Linked DNA regions of Homo sapiens: region 2 is linked to region 1. Evidence: promoter capture Hi-C in 16 types of primary human blood cells and fetal thymus (Javierre and others, 2016). All regions are on one chromosome and are shown on one strand. Each heading gives the region's core, a stretch centred on a gene start or on the middle of the fragment in contact. The rest is flanking DNA. Distances are from core to core; before and after follow the strand shown. Region 1 holds the start of MAP3K21 (mitogen-activated protein kinase kinase kinase 21). Region 2 overlaps SLC35F3 (solute carrier family 35 member F3).

Region 1 (3,992 bases), core at 1,014-3,513:
TCATTATAAGAATATGAAGCGATCTTCAATATTAAAGAACCAACATCAAACAGCAATTCTATAGGCTCTTTTATACAGCAAAGTTTCATAGGATTTGCATTTAAGTCATTTGTCAGTTCTTTATTGACATCTGGAAAATCCACCCTGATTTATAAACAAAGTCAATGACACTGGCCAGGTCTTCAAGGTTTCAAGTACCTGTGCAAGGACAATGCACTTGTTATTAACCCAAAAGTGCATTACGGTGCACACCAGTGCCTCTTGTCTGGAGAAAAGAAGCCATTGAACCAATAATAAAATCATATTTCACGTAGAGACACTTTTTTTTTTTTTGAGACAGAGTCTCACTCTATCTCCTAGGCTGGAGTGCAGTGGCGCGATCTTGGCTCACTGCAACTTCCGCCTCCCGGGTTCAAGTGATTCTCATGCCTCCGCCTCCCGAGTAGCTGGGATTACAGGCGCCTGCCACTACGCCGGGCTAATTTTTGTATTTTTAGTAGCGACAGGGTTTCGCCATGTTGGCCAGGCTGGTCTCAAACTCGTAACCTCAGGTGATCCGCCCACCTCGGCCTCCCAAAGTGCTGGGATTACAGGTATGAGCCACCGCGCCTGGCCCATAGAGAGACATTTGAATGAAAACAGTCTTTGGAAAAGGTAAGAGACATGAAGTCATATTTTGAATAGGCAAACAGCAACCTCAATACAGCACTTGTAAAGTTGACGTCCCCGAGTGCATTCGGGGACTTTGATGAAGGCCACCGGGTGAAGACGGTCATGGGTTCCATATAATCTGCAGAAGGCCTCGGTTTGCAAAGTCCTACCCAGATGAATCACCTCTGGTATTGAAAGGCCAGACTGCCCCCTGAGGTTTCTAGGAGATCCAGGTATTTTACAAATGTTTCCTCTACAAGCAAGTCTGGTCTGAACTTTTTTAAAAAGCACCCAAAGGCAAGTCAAGGTTAAGCGTGTCACCAGCCCCAAAGCAAGTAACCAAGGACTAGCTGGACTTCCGAGCCCTGAAGGCCTGGGCATGAGTTGCTGCTGGCGCCCTAAGGCTGACTCCCACCTCTTTCCATCTGGTACTATGTCCTGTGGAGCCCGCCTGGGCTGGCACGGAGGTAGTCTTCCCCCACCTCCCTCTGGCCCCACTTACTGTTGCTGGACTTGAGGTCCCGGTGCAGGATGGGCACGAAGGCCTCCTCATGCAGGTAGAGCATGCCCCGCGCTATCTGCACGGCCCAGTTGACCAGCACGTGCGGAGGGATGCGGCGCGCGCGGCGGGGGCCGGGCGCGCGCGGGTCCGGGGCGGCGTTGGCAGCGGCCAGCGCTCGGTTGAGCGCTCCGCCGCGGGCGAACTCCAGCACCAGGCAGAGGTGCGGCTGCTGCAGGCACACGCCGCGCAGCTCGATGATGTTGGGGTGCCGCAGCATGGCGAAGAGCCGAGCCTCGCGCCGCACGCTCTCGGCAGCCGCCGCCGCGTCCTGCTCCGGGTCCTGGCGCGCCGCCTTCACGGCCACCTCCTGGCCCTGCCAGGTGGCGCGGTACACCTGCCCGAAGCCCCCAGCGCCGATGAGCTCCTTCAGCTCCAGCCGCTCGAAGGCGACGTGTACCGGGGAGCTGGGCCGCGAGGGCGGCGGCGCGGGGCTGGCGGCCGGGCGGCAGGGAGCCACGTAGTTGGCGGGGAAGATGCCGAGGCGCCGCTGCACCTGGCCTGCCCACCAGCCCTCGTCGCCCGACACGGCGGCGTCCTGCGACAGCACCTCCACCAGCTGGCCGCGCCGCAGGCTCAGCTCGTCCTCGCCGCGAGCCTCGTAGTCATAGAGCGCGGCCCACAGCCCCGCGCCCGCCGAGGCCGAGCCGCCCGAGGAGGTGGACGACGAGGACGCTGAGCCGCCGGGGGCTCCCCCGGCCGAGGACACCGGGGTGTCGGTCGCTCCCGCGGCGCCCCGCAAAGCCATGGGGGCAGCTGCGCGGGGAAGGCGGAGCGGGAAGCTGGGCTCAGCCTCCCGGGCGGCCGCGGGCGCGCATCGTCCGGCGGTGTGGCCGTCGGCGCCGGGGGAAGGCGAGGGGGTAGGAATCGCGATCGGTGACGGCAGAGATCACGGGCTAGCTGCCCAAAGGGTCCAGCCTCGGCCCGCGTTCCTGGCCAGCCGCCTCTGCTGCCGCAGCGGTCCCCGAAGCCGCGGGCGACGTCCCACCATGGTCGTGCCCAGGCCCTGCGGCCGGCCCGCCCGCCGCGCGCTCCTTAGCCAGAGCCTGGGACGCCCCACCCCACCCTAGCCGCGCCAGGGCCGCCCCGCCCCCTCCGGCTCCATTCCGCACCGCCCCCCCACCCCCCCGGGCCCGCCCCTAGGCCAGTCCCCAGGGCCTTCCCGCCCCTCCCCCAGCCGCCCCGCCCTCTCCAGGTTCATTCCGCCCTCCTTGACCCGTCCCGGGCGCCCAGTCTGCGCCCGCCCTATGGGACCGCCTTCCTAGGTTCGCCCCACCCTTCCCCACCAACTGCACCATCCCGCCCCGCCCTCGCCAGGTTCACTTCCCTTTTCTGTGCCAGTCCCCAGAGCCTCGTCCCGCCCCTGGCGCCCGGGCCCGTCCCCCACCACCTTGGGCCGGGCCCGCCCCCTGGGCCCGCCTGGCTGGTCCCACCCCGCCCCCGCCGCAGGTGCTCCGGAGCAATGGTGAGCCGCGCCCACATGGTCTGGGAGGCGGGATCGGCCGTCATCCGCTATAAATTTTCGGGAGAGTTTAAATTAAGCCAAAGGTAAGACTGAGGGAGGGGACGCTTCTCCAAGAAGCGGTGGGAGAGGGTTGAGAAGATGTGGGGCTTTAGGGTGTGGCGGGGAGAGAGAGAGTTGCAGTTCAGGGAGAGTGACAGAATCTCAGAACGGGCTACAGAAGAAATTGTAGCGCGGTGCCAGACCTGGGCCAGTGCGAGTGGCAAGTCACCATGCTAAGTGCGTTTGAGCCACCGTGCATCTCAGAACTGACTAGGTTACAGATCGCAGCGCAGAGTGACCCGTGGTCGGTATAGTCCCAGAAGCTCCATGATGGTAAATCCTTTGCTTATTTTTACTGTCTACTCAGATGGAAAATGCCCCAGTCTCCCTGGAAACCCACAGGTTTGGGTTTAGGAAGCATTGGCAATGGCTGGGTGCCAGACGTTGGTAGGTTACTGTGGCAGGTGATGAGGCTAAAAAGATAGAAGAGCTTAGTTATTAAAATTCTAAAATATTAGATTATCCTGTAGTAGGCCAGAATTTCCTAACGTGTGGATCCTGTACTTCCAATAACAGAAGGGACAATTTTAGATATTATGAGGATAGGACATACAGTAACATTCTGAGTTACATAAAGATAAATTTATTGTCTTTTCAGTTTTCTTTGTCTCTCAGATCAAACTATTTATTGGCTGTGTGACCTTGAGCAAGTTTCTTTATTTCTCTATGACTCAGTTTTCTCATCTATAAAATGGGAATATAATAAATAGTACCTACTTTATAGGGTTTTTAGGAAGACTAAATGAGTTAATAGTTTTACAGTGGGTCTTCTGCATCCACAGAATCAACCAACAGCTGGTCAAAAATGTTTTTTAAAAACCCAAAAAATAACAATACAAATAATACAAATAAAATACAGCATAACAACTATTTACAGAGCATTTACATTATATTAGGTATTATAAGTAATCTAACTATTTAAAGTATGGGCATACTTTGGAGATACTGCAAGCATGGTTCCAGATCACTGCAATAAAGCAAGTGACATGAATTTTTTGATTTCCCAGTGCATATATATACAAGTTATGTTTCCAGTATACTGTAGCGTATAAAGTGTGCAATAGCATTGTGTCTAAAGAATGTTTATACCTTAATTTTAAGTACTTTATAGGTAAAATGTGCTAATGATCATCTGAACCTTCAGCAAGTCATAATCTTTTAGCTGGCAGAGGTCTTGCCTCTATGTTGATAGCTGCTGACTGATCAAGGCAGTGGTTG
Region 2 (3,992 bases), core at 885-3,384, 740 kb before region 1:
AATGAAAATAACATGCACTTGAAGTATTTTTGCCCTAACCTCACTCAGTTCCCACAAATTCCGCTCCACCCTCTCTACTTTGATTGCTTTCTGCAAACTTTCTGAACCTTCTCTATGCCTCTGAGAAAAGATCACCTTCTGCCTCTAAGAAATCATGAGCTTTGAAACCTTTAAAATTCCGCTTGAGCTCCACCCCTGCCTGTCTTGCCTTTTCTGACTGGGCCCCCTGGGGCTCCAGTGTCTGTAGAAGTCATCCTACCCTCCCCCACTTCATCTTTCCACCTACTTGGGCACTGAGAACTCATATATACATATCTGCATGGGTTGAGCTGTCATGGCTGTGGTTACAGATTTTGTCATTTGTGTTTTCAATATCTATGTCTATTTGCTAGTTGCCTCTTATACTTGACATACTCCTTTAGGGCAGCTGCTTGCTCTGGCATTGCTTTTAGAAGTGCCCAGTGTTCAATCATTGTTAACTGATGATGAAGTCAAAAGAGAAAGAAGTGGGTCCAGAAGAGATAATAGCAGGTAATGAAAAGAGAACAGGACCAGCAATCAGGATGGAAGCTTCTGCTACTGACCAGCCATGTGACCCGTGACCTTGACGTACATTTTAAAGGGAAAGCTGAAGGGAGTGTTTAACTTATGAAGAGTAGGATGACACCCGACACCTGTGAAAAGAAGGTAGTTTTCAGACCGTGAGACAAGAGGGACGTTTCTTAAAATGTAGCACCAAGCACATTAATAGAAAAACAGTAGAAGAATAGATGGAGAATTTTGCCACACTCAATATGGCTTCCAGGCCTGCCAGACCTAGCAGAAAAAGAAACTAAAGCTTGGACAATGATACACAATATAAAGACACTTAACACGATCGAATGCACACTTAAAAATGGCCCAGATGGTAAATTTTATGTTACAAATATTTTACCACATTTAATAATAAAAAAAGAAACTGAAGCAAGTACGACATCAAACTTGGGACTTTTTCCTGGGACACCCACAAGCAAATGGGAAAAATGAGGGAAAGAAGAGAAAAAAGTCCAGTGGTTTCACAGTTTATACTGGATTTTTATTTTATATGGACAATGAAATGAGTGGTATGTATCATATATTTATCATGTCGGAGGAAGTGATTTAAATTGATCTGATTCACAGAATTTCAGAATGATTTCCCAGTACCTTTGAAGGAACCGGGAGGTAGGTGACGGGTATCCTGATGGATAGGCTGAATGGTTTGTTCACAGTCTCCAACAGCAATGGCTGCTGCTTCTTTCCATGATGACTTTTGTGTTTCGATTATCCAGCTATGCAAGGTGCTTATGGAAGGACTCAAGAAATAGAAGATAGGGGACTGGGCATGGTGGTTCATGCCTGTAATCCTAGCACTTTGGAAGGCAAGGCAGGAGGATCTCTTGAGCCCAGGATTTCAGGACCAGTCTGTGTAACACAGTGCGATCCCATCTCTACAAAATTTTTTTTTAAATTAGCCAGACTTGGTGGCTCATGGCTATAGTTCCACATACATGGGAAGCTGAGGTGGGAGGATTGCTTGAGCCCAGGAGTTCAAGGCTGCAGTGTGCTATGATCACGTCACTGCATTCCAGCCTGGGTGACACAGCAAGACCCTATCTGTAAAATAAAAATCAAAAGGAAATAGAAGCTAGCATATCTGCCCATCTGACATTTGTGTTCTTGTGGGAAAGGTACAGACACATCCACACGGAACAGATGAGTCAATGGGATCACTTTGTACTGCCTCTGCAGCCACCTCCATCATCTCTCCACTGGGTTATCACAAACACCCTCGCCAGGTCTCCCAGTGCCCACGCCTGTCCTCCCACCATCTGCTTTGCCATATAACAACCAAAGTGATTCTTTTCAAACCTAAGTTAGTTCATGCCACTCCTCTAATCAAAGCCTTCCAGGGTCTTCCCATCTCTCCATGCCAAGCCAAGGTCCTTACAAGACCTCTGAGGCCTGGTGTGATGGGGACCCTTGCCCCCTTGCCCATGGGTCCTGCCACTCTTTGCTGACTCATAGGCCGCAGCCATTTTGGCTTCCTCCTGTTCCCCAAACACTTCAAGCATAGCCTCATTGCAAGGGGTTGCATTGGCTTTCTTTTCTGCCTGGAACACCGTTCTTCCCGAGATCCACAGCCCCCCACCCCTTTCTCTGTTCAATTATCTTCACATCAGAGATACTTCCCCGGTCACCGCATAGAAAATGGCAAGTTCTCCTGTCTGTCCCAGGCCCTCCTGGCTTAATTTTTCTCCATCGTATTAAACGCTACCTAACATGTTACATATTTAATTGTATATTTGCTTCATGTCTCTCTCTTTCTACCAAGGAGGGCCAGGGTTTTGTTTTGTTCACTGCATTATCTCCATCAGTGTCTGATGAGTGCTCAGGAAGTATCTGTTGAGTGAATTAAGGGCCCAATGACTGGCACAGGCAATTGTCACTAACAGAAAATTATGTTTGCATCTGAATAAAGGCAGAAAGAAACATATGACCATAGCAAGTGCCTTTTATTAAGTGCAACCTTCTTCACAGATAAATAAATGTAAACCCAGGGCACAGCTACTTAGACAAGACAGAAAAATATCCAAAATAAACCAGCACTGTTAGGATTGTCCTATTCTTCTAGAAATCCTTGGAGTTAGCAACAGCACATAAAGCAGTCATGCTGCCTACAATATCTACTGTTGTTGAATTAATTTCAGTAGTCACTTACATAAATCTGACTCTAAAAACAGTTATTTCCACTCAGCTACATTGTCATAAGTTCTCTCATTCCCAATTCAAGCAACCACACTCATGAGTCCCCTGATTCCTTTTTCTGTCCAGGCCAGTAAATGGTGCCAATTGTGCCCTGTGGGATATAATGAAACTTTATTGACAAGGGATAGTGGAGTTTCTTAACTCCCATAACTTCAACAACTAGCCAACAATTTGGGGAGTAGAAAGGGTGGTCCTTGGCCATTAATTACATCTTAACGAGGCATGCCAATAGGAGGTACGGAGTTTGGGAGGAGCTGTTATTAATAGGTTTGTAGGTGGAAATTAGACACCTTTTGAAGCATTCTGCTGCTTTCTTCCCAAGGCCTCACTTCTTCAATGACAAATTGCATGTTCATAGATCTGAATAACATGGAATGTTCATTAAATATTCCTAAAAATGTTATTTGTTGTAACTTTCATGGTGAGAGCCTACTAAACTGATAATTTCTGTTTAACCCATTAATGCTCTACTCCTATCAGAGGTGAGAGAAATGGCAAAGATTTGGAAACACATGAATTTGGTCACGTAAGGACTGTCCACCCACCCATTAACTTACAGGCTCTCTGCCAGGGGTGGAGGACCCAGCAGGAGTGACAAGAACGTCGTCTTTGCTCTAATGAAACCAGGATGGGAACAAGCTTTCTGAAAATGGTTCTAAAAGAAGCACCATGATGATGGAGCTGTTTTACCATTTTACTCTCTGGAGAGTCCCAAGGACTTTGAACAGTGCCTGGCCCATAGTTTCTCAGTAAGTAATTGTCAAGGAAATAAAGAAAGCATTTGACTAGCACCTGACCCCCAGCAGGTACTCATGTGTTGTAGCGATATTATTGATAGATTCTTGACTTGCCAGGTCCCTAGACTCTGCCGGGTCTGCTCTTGGGTCCTCTCCACACATAGGGCCAGAGGAGGGACAACTCCTTTGAAAGGTATACAGTCTCTTCACTGTATACCTAACAAGACAGACTTTCTCTGATAGAGTCGTGAGGCTCTGTCGGCTGCCTGGAGGCAGGGCTTCAGGTGAGACGGGATTGCTCTGCATCTATTTCCTCATCTCCCAAAATGGGAGTTGAGGGTAAGCTCTCAGATTCTTCCTAGTTCTAACAGTCTCCAATTGTAACTCTGCACAAATCTAGAAGGTTGAGAGGAGCATTAATTATTTATTTTAAGGAGGCCATCATACAAAATTACTAAAATGAACTGA

What was found. Contacts are between HindIII fragments. The CHiCAGO score rates a contact against its expected background, and 5 or more counts as called.
Region 2: a fragment that was not itself captured here is called in contact with the fragment with the promoter of MAP3K21 in region 1 in 7 of 17 cell types (M2 macrophages, erythroblasts, total CD4 T cells and 4 more); the score reaches 8.0 in M2 macrophages.

What each region holds. Positions count from the first base shown.
Region 1 is chr1:233,325,995-233,329,986 of GRCh38, reverse strand. MAP3K21 (mitogen-activated protein kinase kinase kinase 21) reads right to left here and starts at 2,263. Exons shown (of 10, transcript NM_032435.3): 1 at 1,154-2,263. The coding sequence starts at 1,958. It also overlaps a transcript of PCNX2 not described here. RefSeq lists silencers at 1,620-1,819, 2,009-2,160, 1,960-2,259, 2,450-2,749. The HindIII fragment of the contact is 7,885 bases long and covers 1-3,992 here.
Region 2 is chr1:234,070,808-234,074,799 of GRCh38, reverse strand. The region is part of intron 2 of SLC35F3 (solute carrier family 35 member F3); the gene reads right to left. Among named protein-coding and RNA genes, the nearest start is that of SLC35F3, 170 kb to the right of the region's middle. RefSeq lists an enhancer at 786-1,985. The HindIII fragment of the contact is 2,588 bases long and covers 841-3,428 here.